Regions from separate parts of the Homo sapiens genome. Here regions 1, 3 and 4 are each linked to region 2. Evidence: promoter capture Hi-C in 16 types of primary human blood cells and fetal thymus (Javierre and others, 2016). All regions are on one chromosome and are shown on one strand. The core of a region is centred on a gene start or on the middle of the fragment in contact, and the rest is flanking DNA. Distances in the headings are between cores, read along the strand shown.

What was found. Contacts are between HindIII fragments. The CHiCAGO score rates a contact against its expected background, and 5 or more counts as called.
Region 1: a fragment that was not itself captured here is called in contact with the fragment with the promoter of ST8SIA6-AS1 in region 2 in 2 of 17 cell types (M2 macrophages and M1 macrophages); the score reaches 5.7 in M2 macrophages.
Region 3: a fragment that was not itself captured here is called in contact with the fragment with the promoter of ST8SIA6-AS1 in region 2 in 1 of 17 cell types (M2 macrophages); the score reaches 5.8 in M2 macrophages.
Region 4: a fragment that was not itself captured here is called in contact with the fragment with the promoter of ST8SIA6-AS1 in region 2 in 6 of 17 cell types (M1 macrophages, total CD4 T cells, naive B cells and 3 more); the score reaches 7.1 in M1 macrophages.

The regions. Positions count from the first base shown.
Region 1 is chr10:16,819,966-16,822,665 of GRCh38, reverse strand. It overlaps LOC105376435 (a long non-coding RNA gene), which reads right to left. Exons shown (of 3, transcript XR_930708.3): 3 at 1,409-1,838. Among named protein-coding and RNA genes, the nearest start is that of RSU1, 3.9 kb to the right of the region's middle. The HindIII fragment of the contact is 1,317 bases long and covers 603-1,919 here.
Region 2 is chr10:17,385,671-17,388,370 of GRCh38, reverse strand. It overlaps ST8SIA6-AS1 (ST8SIA6 antisense RNA 1), which reads right to left and starts at 1,435. Exons shown (of 3, transcript NR_034129.1): 1 at 1,296-1,435. All of the region lies in intron 3 of ST8SIA6 (ST8 alpha-N-acetyl-neuraminide alpha-2,8-sialyltransferase 6), which reads left to right. The HindIII fragment of the contact is 1,777 bases long and covers 1,163-2,700 here.
Region 3 is chr10:18,222,616-18,225,315 of GRCh38, reverse strand. All of the region lies in intron 2 of CACNB2 (calcium voltage-gated channel auxiliary subunit beta 2), which reads right to left. Among named protein-coding and RNA genes, the nearest start is that of CACNB2-AS2, 38 kb to the left of the region's middle. The HindIII fragment of the contact is 2,157 bases long and covers 183-2,339 here.
Region 4 is chr10:16,864,022-16,866,721 of GRCh38, reverse strand. The region is part of intron 59 of CUBN (cubilin); the gene reads left to right. Among named protein-coding and RNA genes, the nearest start is that of RSU1, 48 kb to the right of the region's middle. The HindIII fragment of the contact is 4,192 bases long and covers 1-2,700 here.

The sequences.
Region 1 (2,700 bases), core at 12-2,511, 570 kb after region 2:
ATTCGAAGTCATTTCTTTGCTCCCACATCTGAGCACATGCTATTAGAAGCAGCCAGCCCAAATCTTGAACACTTTGCTGCTTAGAAATTTTTTCCACCAGATACCCCAGGTTGCCACTCTTTAGTTCAAACTTCCACAGATCCCTAGGGCATGGACAGAATGCAGCCAAGTTCTTTGCTAAGGCATAATATGTGTCACCTTTGCTCCAGTTCCCACTAAGTTCCTCATTACCATCGAAGACCTTGGCAGCCTGGACTTCATTATCCATATCACTATCAGAATTTTAGTTGCAACTTTTAAACAGTCTCTAAGAAGTTCCAAATTTTCCCTCATCTTTATGTCTTCTGAGCCTTCCAAACTCTTCCAACCTCTACCCATTATCTTGTTCCAAAGTCAGTTCCACATTTTCAGGTATCTTTATAACAAAACCCCACTCCTGGTACCAATTTTCTGTAATAGATCATTCTTGCATTGCTATAAAGAAATACCCGAGACTGGGTAACTTATAAAGAAAAGAGGTTTAATCTGCTCACAGCTCTGCAGGCTTTATAGGAAACATGGTGCTGACATCTGCTTGGCTTCTGGGGCAGCCTCAGGAAGCTTATAATCATGGAGGAAGGCGAAGGGGAAACAGGCATGTCACACGGTGAAAGCAGGAGCAAGACAGCGAGAGTATGGGACAGGTGCCACACACTTTTAAGTGGCCAGCTCTCATGTGAACTCAGAGCAAGAGCTCACTTATCACCAAGGGTATGGCCCAAGCCATTCATGAGGGATCTACCCCCACGATCTAAACACCTCCCACCAGGCCGATCTCCAACACTGGCTTTTATAACTCAACATGAGATTTGAGCAGGGACAAATATCCAAACTCTATTATGTATTTACGCTCAGGAGTACAAAGTTTCCATAAGCACCACCATTGCCTATTCCTTAACACAATATGTTAAGTTATAAATAAACAATATGGTTTGCCACTTAACAAGAAGTAGAAAGTTCAGTAGCACATCCTTATCTCCAATGCTGCCAGACATGTAACTAAGTGAGGTAGTTATTAGCTTCCTTTTCATAAGAAAATTCAATGCTTTTATAAAGTTTTTCAGTGCCTCTAGAAAAGCGGAAGCCTTTACAAAGGAGATTTGCTTTATGTTAATTATGCAAAATCAAGGGTTATTAACAAAAGACCATGTGAATGAGAGAAGCTGAGGAATGTAACTTCATCTTACTCTAATACTCAAATGGCAGATAATTATTTCTGGACAGAGTATGGAGCCACAGAAATAAAATACTCTAACCTTGAAAATTCAGCTACTCAGGAGGCTGAGGCTGGACAATCACTTGAACCTAGGAGGCGGAGGTTTCAGTGAGCCAACATCGCGCCACTTCACTCCAGTGTGGGTTACAGAATGAGACTCCATCTCAAAAAAACAAACAACAACAACAACAATTCCTGCTCCCTTTTTGTATTATGGATAGACATATCAACTTTATGGGTGACAATTACATTGGAAAGGACAGTGAATGCGATAAGTAACACCATCAAATCCAAAAGGTCTTGATAAGCTACAACAATGGGCCAATTGTAACAGACGAAATGTGACAGATATAAGATCTTCCTCTTTTATCAAAAAATGAATTGCAAAAGTACAGAATACAGGGAAAGTTTAACAATAACATGAAATGACATAGTACTTTTCTGAAAGAAAGATTAACATGATGTCACTGTCAAAAAAATGATGCTTAGAGCATGGACTGCATCATTAGAGTAACGGTATCATTTCCACTCAGAAGGGCATGCTTTTCTAGGAGGCATATTGGAATATCTGGGAAGTGTGTACCTGAAATTGAGGAAAGCATAGTCAATATTATTATGTAATTTTAAAATTAAAAATACAGAAAAAAAGAGACAAAATGAAGCTTTACAAAATCTTCCAGGCTGGGCATCTAGGAAATAAGCAGTGATTTTTTAGTGGGTTAGGGATGGTCAGGCTTGGGAGCATGACATTTTCGTGTATAGCCAAGGGAAGTAGTTATTGAGTAATTCAGTTTTTGAGTAATTCAGCTGGAAGAAGGAGAAAAGAGTCAACTGTACTCTCATTCGTAAGACCCACCGTATATCCTCTGGTTCTGCTTTACATTTAATTCACTTGTTTCCAAATGTTTATTGAGCATCAGCTATGTGATACGTACTCAGCGCACTGAGGATAAAGCAGAGAACAAGACAGCCATACAAGACTATCAGCTGATGTCTCCCAGCTTCACAAAGCACACTTCCCAGCTCCATCTTGCTTGATTTCCTGAGCCAGTCCTGAGGCAAAAACCTTAATATTCTTATCTGGTGAAACATACATTGAGCCAACTTCCCAGATCTAGTGGCCAAGGGATAAGTTTCCTGATTCCAAATTGTGTCACCATGAAGTTTCACTGCTAGCAATCAGGACCCTGGACAGGCTAACCATCATCCTAGCAAATTAATCAAACCTGAGAAGGGGGTGTGGGAACCCTGATTTATAGCTGGTCAGTCAGAAGTGTAGGTGACAGTCAACCTAAAGTCTTGTGGAAATGAACCCTTAACTTGTGGGATTTGACTATAAGTTGAGGTAGACAGTGTCAGAATTAAGTTAAACTGTAAGACACCGAGCTGGTGTCTGCTGGAGAACTGTTTCATGTGTGGGGGATTCTCTGGTGTCAGAAGTGTTG
Region 2 (2,700 bases), core at 186-2,685:
CTGAGCCTCTGGGTAAATAGACTAACGATATTTGCTTAGAGGAAGAGACACATCCATTGAGTGTCCCTAGCAGGCTGATCTCTGGCTGAGGTCCTGCTTAAAGTTAATGGAATCCAGGATCCAGGAGGCAGGACTGCCTGGAGAATGGCTCAAAGGCTGTGGAACTCCCTGGGTCTAAAAGAGAAACCGTTTAACAATTTAAAGTTTCCTGCTGTGTGAGGAAGCCCACTGACCTCACCTAGAAACCTCACCTACGATCCTGGGCCATGTGCAGTGTGGGAAGACAGGACTGGGGTGTCCACCCTTGATGTCCCAAGCCTGTCTCTGCTTTGTCTGAGTCTGTTGACATAACCAGAAATTATGTTTTACCAGCTATCTGGGCATGCCTGAGCCCAGTCAGGTCGACACAGAAAATGAACCATTGAAAGCCTTAAACCACACACAGCACAGCTGTCCTAGACGGCCCTCCAGATATACAGTGGGCATTTCATGGGCAAGAAACAAACCTTTGTTTTGTAAAGCAATTGAGAGCTTGGCGTTGTTATCATATCATAGTCTATTCTATCCTGACAAGTAAAAGGAGTTGCAATCTCTCTCCTAGAGTTCAGCAGAAATCTCTTAACTTTTTCACTTCACCTCTAGCCCCATTTCCCCTCATTTCTCTGCAGATCTTTGAAATTATTAGGAAAGCTTGATACTGGCTAAGATCTCTGATTTGGGTTAATCGATGTGACAGCAGTCCAGTCCTGTATGTTAGCTCCGTTTCTCACAGAAGGATAGCCCTATGAAAATCCTAGTTTTCTGGGCCCGGCGCGGTGGCTCACACCTGTAATCCTAGCACTTTGGGAGGCTGAGGCGGGCAGATCACCCGAGGTGGGGAGTTCGAGACCAGCCAGACCAACATGGAGAACCCCCCCCCCCCCGCCCCACCGCCCCGACTAAAAACACAAAATGAGCTGGGTGTGGTGGCGCATGCCTGTAATCCCAGCTACTCGGGAGACTGAGGCTGGAGAATCTCTTGAACCCGGGAGGCAGAGGTTGTGGTGAGCCAAGATCACGCCACTGCACTCCAGCCCGGGTGACGAGAGCGAAACTCCGTCTCAAAAAAAAAAAAAAATTATTGTTTTCTTTTCCTTAAATTCCAACTAGCGGGCCTTAAGCTTGCAAGGGGAATCCACGGTGCTGTGCGTCTTCCACTGGGCCCACTCAATCCACTTTCACCCTCATAGCTTTTCACCCTCCAGTTTCATCTCTGCCTGACTTTTCCCAGGGAGGCTGACGTACGTGGAACTCACCAATAGGTTCTGGGCTCTTTTGCCATCCGGCTTTTCTTTGGAGCAAGGAGGAGCATGAAAAAGAGATCAGAAAGAGGGAGGTGAAAGACCATCCCCAGGGCCTAGAAGCTGGCGGAGGCCTGAATAACTCCTCCCTTCTCAGGCCCAGTCCCAAGGCGCAAGGCGGCTTACGTCATCAGCGTGCGTCAGCAAGATAGCAGAAGCGGGGAGAGAGCTGTTCTGAAGACCCAGAGAGAGGCCTACCGGGTATCACGTAGCAGTAGATACACAGACTGAAACACTTCCTGTTTACGGGAGACTGTAAAACCCCTGCCCGTCCTCATTTGGGGCTGATGCCATTTTAGGCCTCGGCCTGAAATGGCCTGAAGGTCTGCCTTCAGGCATTCATTAAAACTGCCTGTTGCTCCACACTGCCTTGTGTTGTTTGTTGGCGTTCTCTCAGGGTTCGAACCAATACAAGAGCCTTGCAGGAGGAAGGAGAAGAAACTCTGTGTTTGATGTCGTTGCAGGTTAACTACATGCTTTTCTTTCTTTTTTCTTGGAGACAGTCTCACCGTCACCCAGGCTGGAGTGCAGTGGTGCGATGTCGACTCACTGCAACCTCCACCTCCCGGGTTCAAGTGATTCTCCTGCCTCAGTCTCCCCAGTAGCTGGGACTACAGGCGCGTGCCACCACGCCCGGCTAATTTTTGTGTTATTAGTAGAGGCAGGGTTTCACCATATTGGCCAGGCTCCTGACCTTGTGATCGAGCTCCTGACCTTGTGATCGAGCTCCTGACCTTGTGATCGAACTCCTGACCTTGTGATCTGCCCGACTCAGCCTCCCAAAGTGCTGGGATTACAGGTGCGAGCCACCGCGCCCGGCCTGTGTGTATGTGTGTGTGTGTGTGTGTGTGTGTGACAGTCTCACTCCGTCGCCGAGACTGGAGTGCAGTGGCACGAACACAGCTCACTGCAGCCTTGACCTGCTGTATTCAAGCGATCCTCCTGCCTCAGCTTCCTGAATAGCCAGGAAGACAGGTGCGTGCCACCATGGCTGGCTAATTTCTATTTTTTGTAGAGATGGGGTCTTTCTTTGTTGCCCAGGTTGGTCTCAAAACCCTGGGTGCAAGTGATCCTCCTGCCTTGGCCTCCCAAAGTGTTGTGTTTACAGGCACTTGAACCCAGAAAATCTGAGACAGGTCTCAGTTAATTTAGAAAGTTTATTTTGCCAAGGTTGAGAATGCGCCCGTGACACAGCCTCAGGAAGTCCTGACAACATTTCCCCTAAGTAGCTGGGGCACAGCCTGGTTTTATACATTTTAGGGAGGTATGAGACCTCTGTCAGGCTTCTGAGCCCAAGCCTGCACTTATACATCCAGATGGCCTGAGGCAACTGAAGAACCACAAAAAGAAGTGAAAATAG
Region 3 (2,700 bases), core at 12-2,511, 840 kb before region 2:
ACTGGAAGTGAGTGGTGTGGTTTTTAAGCTGCTTAGCCCTGTCTCTCCAGGCTTTACCCTCCCCCATCCCCCATCCTCTGCCAGGGATTTTGTAATATCTGATATTAAAAAGGTTCTGCCGACTCCTCCCAGCTCAACAGAACATGGAAAAATACAATAGATCACTTTAAAAAAAAAAAGCTTATTATGTGCAGCCAAAAGCCTGAGAAACAGCAGGTCACATAAAATGAAGGAAATGAAATGTCCATGCTAAGTAATTATGTAGCCTTGGCCTTGAGCAAACAGAGGGCTGGCTGACATCAGAAAAGAACAAGGGCCATAGAGAGCGAAACACGCGGACACCTTGGTGTCCACACTAGGCTCATCCTGAAAAAGGGAGTGGAAATTGACAGGCTGAGGTATAGATGAATGTGCCTGTCAGGATGTAGCAGGGAGGAGGCGGAGCTTAGGCCACCTTAAGGGAGGACTGAGGCCCTTTAACCTGTTTCTGCTCCTGCAATCTGGAGATGGCATGACTTCGATTTGGCTCGGCAGGCCGTAAAAGCCCGCAGTAAAGTTATTACCTTGAAAGAGTGATTCTATATTGGACTGAACTCCCACAAACGCTGGGCTGGTCATGGTTGTGGGACGTAGGCCTTCTGTTCCCAAGCATAACCTCCTACTCTCTGACACAGGAGACTAGGGGGCCCAGGTTCTCATCCAGGTTCTATCAGAACGAGCTTCTTAACCTGATCCAAGTTGCTAACTAACTTGGGGTAAAATGAGAATATGAGCATCTGTCCCAACCCTTCGTGGGTTAGAGAAAGAAATTCTTTGGAAAGTATAAAGTAGCTACAAAATGAGGAACTTTAAGGAGCCGGGTAATTTTCTTCAATAAAATGGATTTCCTTTAATTTTGTATGAAACTCACTTCCCAAAATCGATTTCATATCAGCTGAGCTTTGAGACTACAAAGAAATTGGAATTTTTTTTTTTTTGAAGGGAGAAGTTGAAAGAGGGAGGGAAGAGGAGGGAGAAGGCACACGGAAGGTAGGTCTTAATCATATTTAAGCCTGATAAAAAGGAGTTAGAAAGTTTGCTGTGTTTAAAGCAGTTGTTCATAGTCCTAGAAACCATTCTAGCCAAAAAAGACAAGAAACAGCAGAGACTTTCGCTAAGAGGTTTAGGAAAAGCAAACATTGCAAAAGAGTAATATTTTATTTTATATCTAATTTGTCCTTATTACTCATCTCTAGGGCCACCTAAAAGCAGTCCTTATCAAACTAAACCTCATTAATTCTAGATATGAAAATGAGTCCACTTTTCCCAGGACAAAAAAAAAAAATAGACCCCTTAGTTTAAGATGCAGTGATATGTTAGTAGAAGGGGTAGGCTGCCTATTATCTATTTTTCTGTACATATTTCACTAGATGGAAGAGTTCCCATTTTCTAAGAGCCTAGCAGTTTCTGTTTTATTGGGGGGAAAAGCAACACAAAGGGAAAATTTAAAAATAAAATTTCTGCAATAGGATTCTGTCTCTGAAATTGAAGACAAAAATTCTCCTTAATATTATTACAGCTTTATTTTTAAAAACTAAAAAGGAAATTAAAATATTAATAGTGGTTGTATCTGGTGATGAAAGAAAAAGACTGTAGTACTTTTAAATGTTTTGTTAGTTACCATATAATAGTTTATACTGAAAAATTTCATTTTTAAATAAAGAAAAAAATGTTTCCTAATGTAAAAAGAAGGGAACATAGGAGCATTCTGTTTTATGTGCTTTTCTGCATAAGTATTAAAAACTACTACATTTTTACTATAACGATTGCTCCTGAAAATCGTGTAAAATACATTAAATAATCAATAATTATTCATGGAACAAGAGGAATGTATTAGTAGTGTAATACTCTTTTGCTTTCACAAAAATTAAATATGCTAAATGAAATTTCATTTATTCATTCAACAAACATTGGCTGGATGTATATTACTGACTAGCCTCTTTAATGACATTCTCTTCTGCAGTGCTGTGGAGTTGTAATTATTTATGCCAATTATTAATATTCAGTATTACATATATAGAAGGTGTTGGATATATGATTTAATAGTTCATATTTGAAGACCAGATATGTAGGGATTAAGCAAAAGGCATCAAAATCAAACAAATCTTTCTGAAGCAAAATTAGCAATGCTCAAAATCCTATTTAAATGGCTCATCTGTGTGTGTGTCATGCCCATAAATATGCCCATGACTGACAGCAAACCAGAAAGCCTTCTGGAGTTGTGTCAGATGGGATTTTTGAGTCATTTATGTAACACACAGAACACTCAAAGCAACAAAGTTAACAAAGGAATGAAAGCTTACTTTTGAGGCAAGTTTCACATCTTTTATTTTTCTTTTTGAGATGGAGTCTCACTCTGTCGCCCAGGCTGGAGTGCAATGGCGCAATCTCAGCTCACTGCAACCTCCGCCTCCTGGGTTCAAGAAATTCTCCTGCCTCAGCCTCCCAAGTAGCTGGGATTACAGGCGTCCACCACCACGCCCAACTGCTTTTTGTATTTTTAGTAGAGACAGGGTTTTACCATGTTGGCCAGGCTGGTCTTGAACTCCTGAACTCAGACGATCCACTCACCTCGGCCTCCCAAAGTGCTGGGATTACAGGCATTAGCCACTGTGCCTGGCCATTTCACATCTTTTATGCTCAATGTGCTTTTGAATCCAA
Region 4 (2,700 bases), core at 94-2,593, 520 kb after region 2:
TGCTATATGAATAATTGATCCTGAATGGCTGACAACCAGCAAAATGATCACACTGGGCTGCAGCAATCTGTGAAACTCTGAAATAATCTGCAAATCGGAGCATTTTTCCTAACCGAGTTCATAGTTTGCATCAGATTGTCAATGGCTTCTATGCTCCTATAAAGTTTAAAAAGCTGTTGGTTCTGTGGATTTGGCTAAGTGGGCATGGCCTATAGGCAGAACGGATGCTTTTAAGTACCTTCTGTCCTGTTAACTTCTGCTAGTTTAGTTGCTGCCCCTTCCTTTACCAGCAGGGTCGTCTCCTGCCTTGACTCTGTTTATGTGTGTCCTGTACAAATCACTTCACACTTGCAAACGTATTTTTAACCATCAGAGCCTCCAGTTCTTCCTGAGGGGGTCTCATACCAGAGAGTTGCTTGGCCTATTCACAATATGCATGTCACACTACACATCAAACTTCTACACATAGGGTTAGATCAGGGGCTTTCAGTAAACTTATTTATTTACTGTGCAGTAGCATCATTGTTTCATTTTTTTTTTCTAAAATGATGTATTCTATAACACTTCAGCAAAACTTCAGTGTAGAAAATGGAACTTGGCTCTATTAGATGGGAGGTCTGCAGGCATTTCAATTAGTGAGTTGCCAAGGAGAGACTGAGGGGTGTCCCCTGCAAGACAGCAGGGGGACAGACAGCACAGGAAGACAGATGGGGAAGACGCACCCTCAGGGACAAGTGGTGGCAGTGCCTGTGTTTCTGGAGTTGGTTCCTTCTGGTGGGTTTGTGGTCTCACTGACTTCAAGAATGAAGCCATGGACCTTCGTGGTGAGTGTTACAGCTCTTAAAATTGGCATGGACCCAAAGAGTGAGCGGTAGCAGGGTTTATTGTAAAGAGCAAAAAAACAAAACTTCCGCAGCGTGGAAGGGTACCCGAGCAGGTTGCGGCTGCTGGCTGGGGTGGCCAGCTTTTATTCCCTTATTGCCCCCTCCCATGTTCCATTTTTGTCCTATCAGAGTGCCCTTTTTTCAATCCTCCCTGTGATTGGGTACTTTTAGGATCCTGCTGATTGGTGCATTTTACAGAGCGTTGATTGGTGCATTTTACAATCCTCTTGCTAGCTACAGAGCGCTGATTGGTGCATTTTACAATCCTCTTGTAAGACAGAAAAGTTCTCCAAGTCCCCACTTGACCCAGGAAGTCCAACTGGCTTCACCTCTCACCTGGACTCAAAGCTCCCAGCCAGCCCCTGTTGCCCAGAGCACACATGCTGATGACGAGGGCCACTGTCTGCCTTCCTCCACCTGGGGTATTTGTCACATGGAGACTGAGTCAGGTTGCATTAAGGTCAGTTCAGAGACCTTTGCTAAGAGACCAAGGCAAAAATACCCAAGCACATATATAACAAGGACAGAATGAATTACAGTCCAACAAATGTATAAATATGTTCAGGTAGGCTGGGCACGGTGGCTCACGCCTGTAATACTGGCACTTTAGGAGGCTGAGGCAGGCAGATCACTTGAGGTCAGGAGTCCAAGACCAGCCTGGCCTACATGGTGAAACCCCGTCTCTACTAAAAATACAAAAAATTAGCCAGGCATGGTGGTGCATGCTTACAAACCCAGCTACTTGGGAGGCTGAGGCAGGAGAATCACTTGAACCCAGGAGGCAGAGGTTGCAGTGACCCAGTGACCCAAGATAGCACCATTGCACTCCAGCCTGGGCAACAAGAGCAAAACTCCGTCCCAAAAAAAAAAAAAAAAAAAAAAAAAAAAAGCTGGGCATGGTGGCTCACGCCTGTAATCTCAGCACTTTGGGAGGCCGAGGTGTGTGAATCACCTGAGGTCGGGAGTTCGAGGCCAGCTTGACCAACATGGAGAAACCCTGTCTCTACTAAAAATACAAAATTAGTCAGGCATGGTGGCACATGCCTGTAATCCCAGCTACTCGGGAGGCTGAGGCAGGAGAATCGCTTGAACCTGGGAGGTGAAGGTTGTGGTGAGCCAAGATTGTGCCCAGCCTGAGGAACAAGAGCAAAAAAATCCATCTAAAAAAAAAAAAAAAAAAGAAAGAAAAAAAGACATATGGCCAGATGGAAAGAGCTGATTGATGCATGATATCATTGCTTGGTGATACGGCTTTAGAAAAGCCCTATAACGTTTTGAATCTCAATTTTTATCTACTAAAAAACTGATCAATTTGAAATATTACAACTATTTAAGAATGTGATGGGGATAAAGCAGATAATTTCTGGAAAGCACCTTAGCTGTCAGAGTGAAAGACTCTATGTATTAGAAAGTAATATTGAAGTCCCAAATTTTCAAGCCCCCCGCCCAACCCTATTTCCAAGGTTGGAGGGTGGCTGAGGGTGGGGTGGGCAGGGATCAACATTCTCAACAGGACCACATCATGCTACAGTGATTTTTCGTTCTTTCCTACCCACTTTGCAGTGACACCTAACCGTCAAATCCTAAAGTACATTTTATAACCTAAATCTGAAATCAAAAGCTACATTCTGATTAAATCCCCAGGCCTTGCACAATTGTTACTCCATCGATATTGTCCATATGAGTGATTTACAGAATAAATGGATAAATTGTGCCTACTTCAAAATCATATTTTATAATGAGATATAATAATATACCATATAGAACACATTAGATTTTATCTAGATTCAGCTCATTCTCAAAATTCAATCCTGGT